Regions from separate parts of the Homo sapiens genome. Here all the other regions are linked to region 1. The links are contacts of gene promoters, found by promoter capture Hi-C in blood cells and fetal thymus (Javierre and others, 2016). All regions are on one chromosome and are shown on one strand. Each heading gives the region's core, a stretch centred on a gene start or on the middle of the fragment in contact. The rest is flanking DNA. Distances are from core to core; before and after follow the strand shown.

Evidence for each region. Contacts are between HindIII fragments. The CHiCAGO score rates a contact against its expected background, and 5 or more counts as called.
Region 2: a contact is called between the fragment with the promoter of CHD1 here and the fragment with the promoter of LMNB1 in region 1, in 1 of 17 cell types (total CD8 T cells). The highest score is 7.1, in total CD8 T cells.
Region 3: a contact is called between a fragment that was not itself captured here and the fragment with the promoter of LMNB1 in region 1, in 1 of 17 cell types (naive CD4 T cells). The highest score is 6.0, in naive CD4 T cells.
Region 4: the fragment with the promoter of NUDCD2 here is called in contact with the fragment with the promoter of LMNB1 in region 1 in 1 of 17 cell types (total CD8 T cells); the score reaches 9.4 in total CD8 T cells.

What each region holds. Positions count from the first base shown.
Region 1 is chr5:126,775,588-126,779,315 of GRCh38, reverse strand. It overlaps LMNB1 (lamin B1), which reads right to left and starts at 2,180. Exons shown (of 11, transcript NM_005573.4): 1 at 1,449-2,180. The coding sequence starts at 1,807. LMNB1-DT (LMNB1 divergent transcript) reads left to right here and starts at 2,830. Exons shown (of 4, transcript NR_134485.1): 1 at 2,830-3,021. RefSeq lists enhancers at 514-603, 1,619-2,419 and silencers at 1,094-1,203, 1,414-1,463, 1,774-1,853, 2,054-2,703, 3,354-3,403. The HindIII fragment of the contact is 4,360 bases long and covers 1-3,728 here.
Region 2 is chr5:98,927,034-98,930,558 of GRCh38, reverse strand. CHD1 (chromodomain helicase DNA binding protein 1) reads left to right here and starts at 1,552. Exons shown (of 36, transcript NM_001270.4): 1 at 1,552-2,020. It overlaps CHD1-DT (CHD1 divergent transcript), which reads right to left and starts at 1,997. Exons shown (of 4, transcript NR_151718.1): 1 at 1,917-1,997. LOC100289230 (a long non-coding RNA gene) reads right to left here and starts at 1,425. Exons shown (of 1, transcript NR_036530.1): 1 at 1-1,425. RefSeq lists enhancers at 819-1,148, 637-1,535 and silencers at 1,309-1,518, 1,779-2,408. The HindIII fragment of the contact is 7,543 bases long and covers 1-3,525 here.
Region 3 is chr5:163,506,126-163,509,627 of GRCh38, reverse strand. All of the region lies in intron 1 of MAT2B (methionine adenosyltransferase 2 non-catalytic beta subunit), which reads right to left. Among named protein-coding and RNA genes, the nearest start is that of MAT2B, 2.3 kb to the right of the region's middle. RefSeq lists an enhancer at 3,470-3,502. The HindIII fragment of the contact is 2,473 bases long and covers 243-2,715 here.
Region 4 is chr5:163,458,587-163,461,867 of GRCh38, reverse strand. It overlaps NUDCD2 (NudC domain containing 2), which reads left to right and starts at 1,766. Exons shown (of 4, transcript NM_145266.6): 1 at 1,766-2,006. The coding sequence starts at 1,818. HMMR (hyaluronan mediated motility receptor) reads right to left here and starts at 1,236. Exons shown (of 18, transcript NM_001142556.2): 1 at 1,130-1,236. The coding sequence starts at 1,175. RefSeq lists enhancers at 990-1,049, 1,800-2,049 and a silencer at 1,380-1,469. The HindIII fragment of the contact is 3,644 bases long and covers 1-2,495 here.

The DNA.
Region 1 (3,728 bases), core at 931-3,430:
ATAAAAACAAAAAGGGATAAATGTGATTGCCTCCGGAAAGAGGTAGTGCAGTTATCGTTTTTCGCTACAAACCAGTCTATACTATTTTATTCTTACCACGTGCACATGCTTTTTTATGAACCGAAAACATATGATAGGAGGGATAAGTAAAAATACACAAAATCTCAGAGACTTCGGACAGGGACATTCACGCAGATACAGACAGAAAGACATCCAGGGGCAAAGGGTGTCAAAGTGAGAATAAGGTACCTCCAGAAATTTCAGCTGGCAGTGCTAATGGCGACCATGAATTTCAGACCCAAATTTTGCAAATCTCTAAAGCATGACATCAACACTTGTTGCCTACTGATGACAGGCCATTTTGCTTATCAGAAAGTCAAAATAAGGCCAGCAAAGGTCTGCAAATGTATCCTTGTGCACTGGAATGAAAACTCGCACTCGCTTAGGTGAATTACAAACTCTCCTTCGCTCAAACACTCAGCATTTACACAGCACCCTGTCACCTGCCCTGGTCTACTATCTGCACAGTGGTCGACTAAGGGGTACTAAGCACAGTCTCTACCCGAAAGCCTGACTATACTACGAGGAGGCAAAAGCTGGGGACAGAGGGCCGCTGCCTGAGGGGTAGGAGAACCGCAATTCTAAGAACGGTAGCCGTGACATGCACAAACCCAGCTTTCCTTCCCTGCGCAGAACCACCCGAGGGACCGCACCATCCCCGCTGGGACAGGACACATTTCCCCAGAGAAAGCTAACCAGCTAGCAAACCTAACTTGCCCGGGGCTGGCTGGAGGCGCACGGATCAAGCTCCGCCTCTCTCTCCCGCCTAAAGCAGGCGTAGAATCTTCGCAAAACGTCACAGGGCCAAGACTGAGCGCGCCAAAGCGGGACCCACCCCCAGGAGACGCGGATGCTGCGGGAAGGTCCCTCCCCTTCCTCTCTCTGCCCGCGCGAAGCTCATTCATTCTAGAGGCGGGCTGCCAGTCCTCCCCGGCCGCCCATCCCGGCACTGCAAATCCGCTAGACGCTTTGTCTCGCGCCGGCCGGAAACTGGGGCGCGCACGCGAGCGCGCGCTCGCGCTCCAGCTCCCCGCACCTGGGGCCTGAGGGGCCGCCTCTCCGCGCCGGCTCCCCGGATTCGAGTGCGAAAGCGGGAGCTCCTTCTCGGCAGTCCCAGGCGCGCACTTACCACGTCCCAGCGGGTATCCAAAATCTAGAAATGGGCATCACGGCCCCCCAGCGCTACAGCTCGAGCCCCCTCCGCGACCCCTGCTCCGCTATGAACTCTAGATTCTTTCTCCTTTCCGGAGACCGAGACCCTGTTCCTTCAGAAGGACGCGTGCATCCTGGCCTCTGCTCCCTCCCCACGGCAGAACCCGGTGAGCTGGTCGCCGCGGTTGCGCCCCCGCCCCTCCTTGGCGCTAACGCGGCCGCCAGCTAGCACTCACTTGAGGAGCAGCTGGTCGTGTTCCGCCTTGCACTTGCCCAGCTCGATCTGCAGCTTGGCGCGCTCGCGGGCCGTGTCGTCGAGCGCGCGTCGCGCGTCGGCCAGCTCGGTCTCGTAGAGCGCCTTGAGGCCGGTGAGCTCACGGCCGCGCACCTCCTCGCGCTCCGTCACCTGCAGCTGCAGCGCGCTGTTCTCCGTCTCCAGGCTGCGCACCTTGTCGATGTACACCGCCAGCCGGTCATTGAGCTCGCGCAGCTCCTCCTTCTCCTGGAGCCGCGACAGGCGCGTGGGGCTCAGCGGCGTGGTGGGGCCGCCAGCGCGGCTGCCCATCCGCGGCGGCACGGGGGTCGCAGTCGCCATGGCGGGCGGCGGAGACAGCGGGGCGGCGAGGCCGCGAGCGGGACCGTGATAAGGAGGGGACGGCAGGGGGCGAAGCGGGGACCGAAGGCACAAACCGGCGACCTGCGCTCACGTCCAGACGCTGGCGTTTAGAGGAACGGAGAAGCACCTGGGATGGCGGGAGCTCGATTACAGCACAAAGGGCAAAGGCGCGCGGGGGGGAACTACGAATCAATCGATCGATCGCGAAATACCCTTTGTAAGAAAACACACACACCCACTCACACACGCACGCGGGAAAATGCAAGACGAGGGTGACTGGAGGCCCAGCAGGGTTCGCGCCGCCGCCGTCTCCTGCTCGCAGCACTTTGTTTCCTCTCAGGCTGCACGGAGCGGCGGGCGGGGGGAGGAGGGCCGGGAGGGGCGGGCTGGAGGCAAGCCGCGGGGGGCGGAGGTGGCGCGGGCCGCGGCGCCGCACTCCCCAACATGGCCGGCACGCCCCGGCGCCTCCACGTGACTACCATGGGCCAATGGGGAGCAGGCAGCGCGCTTCGGCGGTTCGGGGGCCGGGCCTGTAAATTTAAAATCTGGCCCTTGGGCAACCGTCAGCTCGGCCCTCCCGGCTGGGCGGTTCCCGGACCAGGCTCAGGGCTGTAAGGAAGGACGCCTGGGACTGCCCACCCGCGCGGCTCTGGGCCCAGGGCCCTCCCGCCGCCCCGCGGGGACCCCTTGGAGGGGCCGGGCCTGAGAAAGGCGGGAAGGAGCCCGGAGGTTTCCGGGACGGATCTGCGCCACCGCCCACACTCGGCGGTTCAGGGAAATTCAAATATAAACGTCCCTAAAAGCCACACGCGAAACTCAGAGTGTCCCCGGCCACCGCGGGCGTGGTAACCTTATCCCCCGCTCCGCTGGAGGGCTCGGGAAACGGCCTGGAGGCCGGGACGCTGTGGAATTACGTAATAGGCACTTGAGTCCGAGGTTCCAAATGCACGGCTTGCAGGTTCCAAGTACCAGCCTTTATTTTTCTCTCCGGTGGAAAACTGTATCAGGCAACTTCTTTCCATGAAAGTGAGATCTGTGCGTCTTGAAGCCGATAGATTATCACAGAAAAACCAGCAACCCTGATTTTAAATCATTTGCCAACAGTGTTAATGGGCGGTTCCTAATCCGTTTCTTAATTTAAGGGTTTGTAAAATCAAAAAACAGCTCAGAAATGATACGATTAACATATGACGGTGAGTAACTACGAGAGCAAGCTGTTTCATACTCCGTTAAAATCAGGTACATAAAAATCTGAACTTGTGAAAATTTAAGATGAAATAATTTTTTGCTTTTAAAAAGAGGCTCCCAAGATGTCACTGGCAGCTACTTCTATTAGAAAGCACATTCATCCCTTTGAAAAGTTCCTAATTTTTAGCTAACATTTATTGGGACTGAGTGCCAGCACCAGGCTTTTCATGGATTACCCATCCACACAATCTCCGTGTGATGTGGGAAACTGGATTGTTTCTATTTGAAAATTCATCCGGGCGGGCGCGGTGGCTCACGCCTATAATCCCAACACTTTGGGAGGCCGAGTGGGGGAGGATCACCTGAGCTCAGGAGTTCAAGACCAGCCTGACCAACATGGTGAAACCCCGTCTCTACAAAAATACAAAAATTAGCCGGGCATGATGGCGGGTGCCTGTAATCTCAGCTACTTGGAAGGCTGAGGTGGGAGAATCCCTTGAACCCGGAAAGGGGAAGTTGCAGTGAGCCGAGATGGCACCATTACACTCCAGCCTGGGTGACAGGGAGACCCCGTCTCAAAAAAGAAAGAAAGAAACCATCCATTTTATAGATTCACTGTCTGAAGGCTGCTCCGCAGGACTGCGTTTGACAGGTCCCAGGATTCTAATTGACTCGAGTCTGGCCCTTAGCTATACCCTAGATGACCACCTTA
Region 2 (3,525 bases), core at 303-2,802, about 28 Mb after region 1:
ATGGTAGTGTTCCACTTCGTTTTGCTATTCAATTATTGCTGATAGATACATGTTTTCAAAAAGGCCATTGGCATCTGTTTGCTTTCTCCTACTTCTCCAAGTGAATACACCCTTCAATATGTAGTAAATACATATGTGGAGTTATGTTTTGAGATTTTTTTGAAGGATTTGAACCAAACTGTTTAAACAGCTGGTAGCCTAAAACTGGAATATTTCCCACAAGGGAAAAATAATTATTTGGGGAATGTATGTTACCACAAACTCATCTGACTTGGAAAGTGCGCCTTTACACCAAATCAAATAACTGAACAATGGGATTAGAAACTTTTAATTATTATTAACCTCGGCCACCGGGCGCCGTGGCTCACGCCTGTAATTCCAGCACTTTGGAAGGCAGTGGCAGGTGGATCGCTCGAGCTCAGGAGTTCAACACCAACCTAGCAACATGACAAAACCCCGCCTCTACAAACATAAATAAAAAACAAAAATCATTAACCTTGAGTGAGTCAAGTTCATCTGCAGACTGAAAAAAATAAAGTGTAACAGAATTTTGATTTAAAAAACGCTTTCAAAAAAGCATTTCAAAATGCTCTAAGTATGTTTCAAAAATACACTTAAAAATATGTTTCCAACACACTGAAGGGATTTAACTAAGATCCACAATTACAGTTACGATACAAACTGTAAGCTAAAAGGCAGCAACTTAAGCTGAGACAGTTACTAACATCCCTCGAGCAGCGTTTTTTGTTGCGATTCGGCGCCGCACCCGTCACCCCGCCCTCCGGGGAGGAACCTAGAAAGGAAGGGTGGTACATTTCTAAACCAGGCCACCCACACATGAATCAAGCGGCATCACAGGCTGTCAACAACCGGGTCTCTATTTTCTCTCCTCCTCCGGCGCCCCGCCCGTGCGGGACATCAGCTCCCAGGATGCGTCAATCGCAGATCGCCCAAGCGTAAGAGGTGGCGAGAGGCCACCACGGTTGCCCAACAGTTGCGTTCCCAGGCTGCCTGGTGTGACGCAGCAGCCCCCGCCCGGACCCTGAGGCCTGGCGCTCCGACTGAGCCGAGGCCTGTGCTACCCGACACTCCTTGCGACCCGGCCCCTTAGGCTTATTCAGCGCGGCCCTTCCCGGCTTCCCGAGTCCCATCGCAGTCTCTCCCCACCCCCGTTCCTCCCCGGTTCCTTGTCAGTGTCCGCCGCGATGTCCTTGCGCAACCATCCCAAGTGACATTAGCGCCCATACCCGCACGGAGCGAGCCTGAAGCTCCCACTTCCCGGAATTCAACGCCGGGCCGCTAAGGGCGGGCACCCAAGCGAGGATCAGCGGACTAAGGCCGCGACCAGAGTCCAGCGGTCTCCGCGCAGTCAGAGTCCGACAGCCTCTGCGCATCCGCCGTGCGCACTCCCATTCGTGCGCGTGCGCGCACTCGCCCCCCCCGCCCCGCCCCAGCACCAATCGCTTTTTTCCTACGCCCACGACCCTTCAACGTAGTCCCTCCCGCCTCCCGCGCGCGAGCAGAAAGGCTTCGGCGTGCGCGCGCCCGCCCGCCTCGCGCTCTGTCGGGAAGGGGAGTGAGCAGAGGCGCTTACGTCGCGCGGGAGGCGGAGGCGACGGCGACCTCGGTGGCGGCGGCGGCTACGACGGAGACGGTTGCGCTCGCTTGCTTTCTCGGCGTCATGGCGGCTGCCGGGGGCAGATAAGCGGAGGGAGCGGGAGCGCGCGCGCGACGGCGGCGGCGGCGGCGGCGACGACTGGTTACTTATAGCTCTTGCTGCCCTCGCCCTTGGTGCTTCAATAATGAATTGTTAGCTCCACTCCGCAGGGGATCGCGCGTTGGTGCTGCGGACCGGGGCTTCCCCTTCCCCTCCGCGTCTGTCCCCTTCCCCCTCCCCCGCACGGACTCTTGCTTACCCCGAGACGCCGGAGCCCTAGGACTGGGCGGCGGAGATCCCGGGCCTGGGCGCGGGGGAGGCCGTCCACCCGAGTCGGCTCCCTCCGCCCCGCCAAGCCCGCCGGTAAGAAAGGGGGCGGCGGGCGGGTCAGGATGTGGCGGAGAGGACAGGAACCGGCCGGGCGGAGGGCGGGCGCGGCGCGGTGCCCAGGCGGCGGCCCAGCGGCCGGGTGAAGGCCGGGTGGCTCTGTGAGTGCCGGTGGCGGTGTACGGGCCTGGCGCGCAGGGGGCGTGTGAGCGGCGAGTACAGGCCGGGGCCGCAGAACGCATCCTTGCGCCGGCCCGGCGGCCCTGCCCCGGCCTCTTCGGCTTGGTGCCGACCGGGCCGCGAGAGGAGACCCGCGAATGGCTAGCACTTAGCCGGTGCGTGGGTCCTGCCGCGACCCGGGCTCCCAGCACGTGGGGAGCGGCGGGAGGGGGAGGGGGCGGCGGCTCGGGCGAGCCTGGGAGGGCGCGGGGCGGGTCTGCGGGAAGTTTGAGGCGGGAAGAGGGACTCCTGGACCGGGATGGAGGCCCTGGGAGAGGGGGGCAGGTCCGCGAGGGAGGCTGATTGGAGCGCGCTGGATGGATGAGTGAGGATGGTTTCCAAACCTCTTTCGAGTGCCGCTTTAAAAACTTAGCAGGAGCAAAGCAACTGCTAAAAGACAGAGGATTGAAGAGGTTTAATAACTTAGGGTAGTCATTGTGGAGACGCTTGAGAGGACACAGCGCTGTGTGCGCTTGGAGCTTCAGAACTCAGGGTTGTGAAAAGGGTCTCAGAGGACTTATTCGGATAAGGGAGATGGAGGGGAAAGGAAGTTAAAATGTACAGAGAAAGCCATTTTGAGGGACGAAAGGAAGGTGAAAAGGAAAGAACGAAAAGGGGAGTGAACTTTTTAAAGGAAGAAACGGGAAAGGCAGTTTGTTAACATACTTAGATTTTTTAAGACTTAATTGTTCAGTAAGGCACTTTGACTAGGGTTGAGATTAATATTTAACATTAGGAATAAATGTTGAGTAGAACGGTTACTTTTTAGATAACCTGTTCTTGCAGAGTCTACTGGACAGTAGTCTAGAGAATTAACATCCTGATCCAGATGCAGACTTTGCTATCATTGAGTTGGTAACAATCTGTTTCCCTCCCTCTCTTGTGGAATGGAAATAATCGTAGGAGTGAATTCTCTTTGCTGAGGTCGGAGGACAGCTCTGCTCTCAGTTGGCTGTCTCGGTACTTTCTGGCTGGGGAAGGATCTGACGTCTCCTTCCCCCGCTTCTTCCTCTCCCTCCCCTGCCAGAGATCTCCTTTGTTTATTCGTGGATGGCTTGTAGGTGATTCTTCAGTGTTGTACTGAAATCTTTAAAGGTGGAAATGGTGTGTCTTGGTTCATTATTCTTGCCCCAAATTTTTTACGTAAAAAATCAGATATAGTGTATATTCTATTACCTTTTCAATTTTTTTCACAAAATAAAAACCAAGTGCAAACTGGTTAAGTATTATTTAAATGTTATCATCCCACTATCCGTTTACCTGTTAAATAACACATTTATTTTGAGCTATGCATTTTTGTTGAGAGTATATGGTATCTTTTA
Region 3 (3,502 bases), core at 230-2,729, about 37 Mb before region 1:
TTCCTCACTTTTTACTTCACTCTACGGAAGCAAAGGAACAGGTAACAGTTCCTAAGGTCAGTGGTTCTCGTGCTTCAGTGTGGATCAGAATCACCTGGAGGGCTTTTAGATCACAAAGGTCTGGGGTGGGGCTTGATAATTTGCATTCCCAACAAGTTCCAACAAGTGATGCTGATCATCGTGATTTGGAGACCGCACTTAGAGGACCAGTGTACTCTCGAACTCCAGGAAAGTTCAAAGCTTTCATAACAATCCGTTTCTCTTACACAAGGAAAACAAAAAGTGCCATCTACCTTTCTCAAAATGACAACAGTATCTTTCCCCCTTAAAAAAGAAAACTTGAAATAGAAGCCAAAGCATTATACAATCCACAAAAGTTACTAAACAATGAATTAAGATCTGTGTACTTCACTGACTCTGTGAAGTACAGTTTCATTTTAACATCTGTTAAATGAATTTAAAAAAAATCTTATGAATCGTCACAGTTTTGCAGTAGTTTTTGCTAACTTAATGCAACTTAAGAGCCCAGATGATCTTCTTTTAATTAAGAGCTTCTTGGAGTTGATGCAGTATTAAGTATAGAGAAGAACAAGGCTCTTTAGGGAATATAATACCTTAACGTAAAAAAGGAAGTGGAGTTGTATGAGAAAATGCAACTTTATATCCTTATACCCCTGGGTTACTATGTAAGGCCTCCAGTACGCCCGGCCTATAACATGTTAATTTTCAAATAAAATGTTGTGCAGTATCATTTCCATTTCAGTAAATGCTTGCACTTCAGATCGTCACTCTTAATAAAAATCTTGAGCACTGACACCTGACTGCTGGGTACTGTACACTGTTTCATATTTTTTTCTAGGTAATTTTAGGTAATCTAAGCTACTCGGGAGGCTGAGGCAGGAGAATCGCTCGAACCCAGGAGGCGGAGGTCGTAGTGAGCCGAGATCGCACAACTGCACTCCAGCCTGGGGGACACGAGCTAGACTTCATCTCAAAAAAACAAACAAACAAAAAAACCAAAAAAAAGAAAACTAACGTGTTATATAAGTATACAATCATAGCTGTTTTTGTTTTTTTAATAGCAGTTTGAGGCCGGGTGCCAGGGCTCACGCCTGTAATCCCAGCACTTTGGGAGGCCAAGGTGGACCAACCACTTGAGGTCAGGGGTTCAAAACCAGCCTGGCCAACATGGTGAAACGCTGTCTCTACCAAAAATAGAAAAACTAGTCGGGCATGGTGGTGGGCGCCTATAATCTCAGCTACTTGGGAGGCTGAGGCAGGAGAATCGCTTGAACCCTGGAGGCAGAGGTTGCAGTGAGCAGAGATTGAGCCACTGCACTTCAGACGGGGTGAAAGAGCAAGAGGAAAAAAAAGAAAACAAAAAAACCCAGCAGCTTGTTAGAAGAGATATTATTTCCAAAGAGAGTAACAAGAAGTCCAGTGTTAAATGTTTTGTCTATAGTAAAAGAGAAAAAGCTGGAACCAGAACCTGAGTCTTGCTTCTCTGGTCAAGTCAAATACACTGCATTTTGTCTCAATCCTGTGAACTAATATTTGGTTTCATGAATGATTAAAGTTTTATCTGTTCTGCCACAAATTGGTGTTTAGAAGTTATTCTATCTCTATTGATCTAATTCCTCATTGGTAAATGGGGAAGGCATTTAGACAAAATGACTAAGGCTCTTTCAGCTTTAAAGTTCTATATTTCTAACATTTTCCATATTATCCCTACCACGAGGAGTCCGAATAGTTTCGTTTACTTAAATAAGGTAACTTTTCCTCTGAATATGCATTACTCCGAAATTTAAAATATGCCAAACAAATATCTCTGTTTTTGAGCTTCTATATAAGCAATACTCTGCCTTTTACACTGTTTTGTTGAGGCTTTTTGGTTCGTTCTTTAGAAAAAGAAATATCCCTCTAAAAACTACTTTGGACCTGCACTCCATAAATTATTTTAGTTGTGCACAAGGAAGAAATGTCTAAACACTTTAAGAAAGTCAGAATGAAAGAATAAAATGCTATCTAGTTCACTCAAGGCACAATAAAGAGTTGATAATACTTTGCCTGAAGTCTACTTTTTCTCAATTTTTATTATATGGGGGAAAGTAGATCTAATATCAGTTTAAGTTACTCTAAACGTATCTGCCTCTTATTGTCTAAACTCTGAAGTACGGAATTCAATCACTCCAAGGGACCAGATTTATGGACACCAAAAAAACATTTCTTGAAAAATTAAGTACATATAAATAAATATTCTTATTATCGTATCTAATCGAATGATACCAAATTGTATAGGTAATGGGAGATACATGGCTCCTTCCAAATGGTCCAACACAGTACTCTGGGACAGTGATTTCTACTTTAGCACACCTGCATTAATGTCTACTAAAAATGTTCTAGAAAAGTAAAGAATGGAATACTATTAGTATGTGGTTTTCCCAAATTTCAGTGGTAAATACCTTGTCGTTTTTGGAAACTTTAAAACTTGGCACAGTTCCATGTTTAATTTTTTAATTCCCCAGAAACAGACCCTTAAGGTAAACATTACTGGGCTTTACTTTTTAAGATTCTCTGACTACTTAGGTGGGATTGGTCTAACTTCTACTGCGACGCTACTGTGCTCCACAGACAGTATTACTAACAACAACCACTCCAGGATGCTTCTCTAACGTTAACTATGAGACAGTTCTCGTTCTCATGAGTCAGTAAGCTTTAATTCTACAGGTTTTGAGAGCAGTAAGTCTGTGCCAAGCTCTTCGTTGTTTCATTTTTAATGAAGGAAAACACGAAAAGCTATTTTCATTTTTATACTGAACTTCTTTTTGTGAAAGTAGATTAAGCTTTATATGCACACGTACACATACAAATGCATACATATAAATGTAAACGTATGTAACATGCACTCAGCACGGTCTGGAGGACCTAGGAACATAGAGGTTTAATAGACCATTTATCCTAACTTTACCCTCAAAGAACCAAAGTGATTTGAAAACCCTAAGTAAATTTGGAAGCATGAAAACTTTGCAATAACAGAAACAGCCATCTCCTATATTCTCTACTCTCTCCAAAAGACATGGTCTGGGCATTAGTAGTGTTCTTATCCCCAGGGTTGGATATGTTCTGTGGACAGATTAATGCTGGAGGCCCTTAAGTGGAATGGAGCAGGATGGGACGGGGGCGAGGGGGGCACCAGAGATGGATCTTCCAATCATCACCATAATCTTCCTTCAGGGAAACTCCGTAGTGGTTCAAAGCCCAAGACAGTCACACAAACCTGTATCTGAATTCCAGGCTCCAACCTTACGGAATGAACCTGGGCCAATGTCTCACCCTCTATGCCCGTTTTCTCGTCTACAAAATGAGGCAATAACAAGTATCTCACAGTGGAGGATTAAAGTAATGCCCGTCAAGTGCATAACATAGTGCTGAGAACTTAAGAGTTCAATAAGTTGTCATCTCCAGCACTGTTATTTGTGAGAAGTCACCTTTTCCTGTTCTT
Region 4 (3,281 bases), core at 517-3,016, about 37 Mb before region 1:
CAGTACCTTCCTCACTTGGCTTTTGGAAGGAATAAACAAGATCTAGTAGCACAGTCCCAGCATACAGCATTTTTTTTTTTTCTGTAAGACAGAGTCTTGCTCTGTCGCCCAGGCTGGAGTGCAGTGGCGCGATCTCGGCTCATCGCAAGCTCCGCCTCCCGGGTTCACGCCATTCTCCTGCCTCAGCCTGTAGTCAGCTGGGACTACAGGCGCCCGCCACCGCGCCTGGCTAATTTTTTTTGTATTTTTAGTACAGACGGGGTTTCACGGTGGTCTCGATCTCCTGACCTCGTGATCCACCTGCCTCGGCCTCCCAAAGTGCTGGGATTACAGGCGTGAGCCGCCGCGCCCGGCCGCATACAGCATCTTAAATGATGAGTGCCTACCAAACACAGCTAAGGCTTCCTGGTTACTGTGCTGTGCATTGCGGTGTTAAGAGCACACGATGGGGGCTGGGTTCATATTCCAGTCCGGTCACTTTGGTAATGTAGCACTGAGCAAATTTAAGTCTCAGTCTTTTTATCAATAAAATAATAATAGGATTACCCCTTAGAGTTGGTGGGAAATTAACATAACTAATAATCGATGTAAAGCCTTAGTACGGTGCTTGAGGTATAAGTGGTCAATATCAGCCATAACTTCATTGTTTATGTTTTCAATAAGTGCTGCTGCTCTAATTTTACACCCATAAACTGCCTTTACTAATCTTCCTTCTTTTATGCCCAAATGGAATACACAAAAGAAATGCACAAGTTCAGACTACAAGTAATACTCCAGTGTTCTTATCAGTGAGGCCCTCTCGGACTTGAAAATCAAGTAGCTACCAACGTCTCGGGTCCATTCCCTTCGCCCTGCTGTAGTTTCTCCATTACCGCTGTTTATTGACAGTATTCCCCGCCTGAATGTAAGCCCCACGGGGCGGAGACTGTTTCACTGCGGTATCCTTAGCATCCTGATTAGTGCTTGGCATGTAACAGATGCTTAGAGCATATTTGAGAAAAATCAATCAACTGAATGAGCCCCAGCCCGACCCTAAAATCGCCTCCTGCTTGCCTCCCAAGAAGGGAGCTGAAAGAGGCAAAGGGCGTTAGGGCGTCTCCCGTCCCCCAGCTCTTTCCCCCTTACGCACCAGAAGGGTCATTGAATCGTTTCAAGGGCGCCTTAGGAAAGGACATGTTGACGGCCAGCTCCAGAAACTGAAGGTGACTGGCACTCCTCGACAACTGAATGCGGATTATCACTCCCTACCGGTTTCAAATTCAAATCTCCCCACATTCCCCACCCACCCCGGCGTTAGCCAATTGGAAAGCCAAACCCCTGGGCACACCAATCCCGCACAGGAACACGAAGAAAGAATGCTGGGTTCTGATTGCGTCCAATTAGCTGGCCTGCGAGTTTAGGCTGCCATCCAATAGGAGACCGTTACTGTTCCCCGCCCCACCCACCCAGTCATTCCCGGAGTTACTCAAGTGTAACCTAGCATTTGCGCAAGCGCACTTCCCTCCGGAGACGTTAGAAAGTGCATTTTGGCGTCACTTAGGGGACGGTGTAGTGAGTTCCGGCTTCACTGGTTCCAATTCTGTCCCATTGTTCGTTGCATGTGAACTTTTCTGGATTTCAGTTCTTTCATCCGGGGCCTGCCGGTGCCGTAAACGGCCATTCAAAGGGAAAAACGAACACGCACACCAAAGCGCTAGCTTGCGTTCCTGCGCATGCGCAGTGACCCGAGCGGAGAGGCCGAGGCGTAGCCTAAGCGTGGGATTCCGCGCGTGCGCTCGGCTCCGCCTGGTGCGGCCGCGGCCGGGAGGGACTGGATTATGTCGGCCCCGTTTGAGGAGCGGAGTGGGGTGGTACCGTGCGGGACCCCGTGGGGCCAGTGGTACCAGACCTTGGAGGAGGTGTTCATTGAAGTTCAGGTGCCGCCAGGCACGCGCGCCCAGGATATCCAGTGCGGCCTCCAGAGCCGGCATGTGGCGCTGTCGGTGGGCGGCCGCGAGATCCTCAAGGTAGCGGCAGCTCGGGGCTTGTGTTCAGTTTCCTCTTCCCAGACGCCCCCAGCCCCGTTTCCCTGAACGACTGTTGGGTGTCCCGACGGCTCCTGTGGCTGGCAGAAAGAGAAAGAGGATAACACTGACCAGGTTTGGGTCTGGTCAGAGCCCCCGCCTCTTCAGGGCAGGTGCTGAGTTGTGGAAATTTGAGGAGCCTATTTTCGTGTTTAGTTTTCAAACTAAGACTGCTGCTTCTGCTTCTCTGACGGGCTTCAGCTGGGAACAGATTAACTAGGTTGCTAAAGGAACAAATATTTCTTCCGTGCACTGAAGACAGGCAGGAAGACAACAGATAACGTACCTGCAGTGGAGAGGTTAAGCTCCTGTACGGAAGCGTAATTCATAAATAGATAAATATAGGAAAGGACAACAAAGAAAATAGGGATAGAATAACGGGCAGAGAATTTAGAGATGATGTCAGGTGATTAGTTTTCTCATCTAAAAGCTTGAAAATCCTGCATGTTTGTGGAGTGGTCAAGCAGGTGGTGAAGAGGTGTGTGCATAAAATAAGTAGTACTCCTTTTATTTCTTTTCACCAATGCTCTTTGGATCTGGACCCGCTTTTTCTTTGTTAAGTGTATAATTAAACTAACAGGTTGAAATTAGATTTAGTTCTCAGGTTAGATGCCCAAGATGTTTGATGGCAGTGTAATATGGTGAAGGGAGACTACTTGTTTCCTAGTTTTGTAAACTTGGGCGAGAGATTGTTCAGTGTCTCTATATCTTCCTTATCCACAAGATAAGGTAGTTATAGTACCCTTCTCATGGGATTGTTTTGAGCTTAACATGGTATTCACGTGTATGAAGAGCTTGGAGTATTCACTGGTATGTAATAAGTTCATACTATATGTTAGCTATTAGCTATTATATATATTACAGTATATGGAGGTGCTTTGAGTGCCTCAAGATTCGTGTGAAAGACATTATGTCAGCTTGGATCTCAGTTACTTTTCTGAATTGTACAATTCATAGTTTCCTCAACAATGGTTTTAGATTACGATTATAAATTAGTAAATCCAGTAACTTTCGGAATTTAGCAGTAGCTGCTGAATTTGGGATTTCTGATGTACGTATAGACCAGTGGGATTTTTTTCTCACTAATTTTGACATATTTTAAAATGTGGGCTTTTCCTAGTGACATTTAATTTCACTTTCTATAACTTAAATTTGGCAACAAATTAAAATGGATTTGAGTTTAGGCATTCTCTCTTTAAAAAAAAATATATATTTATT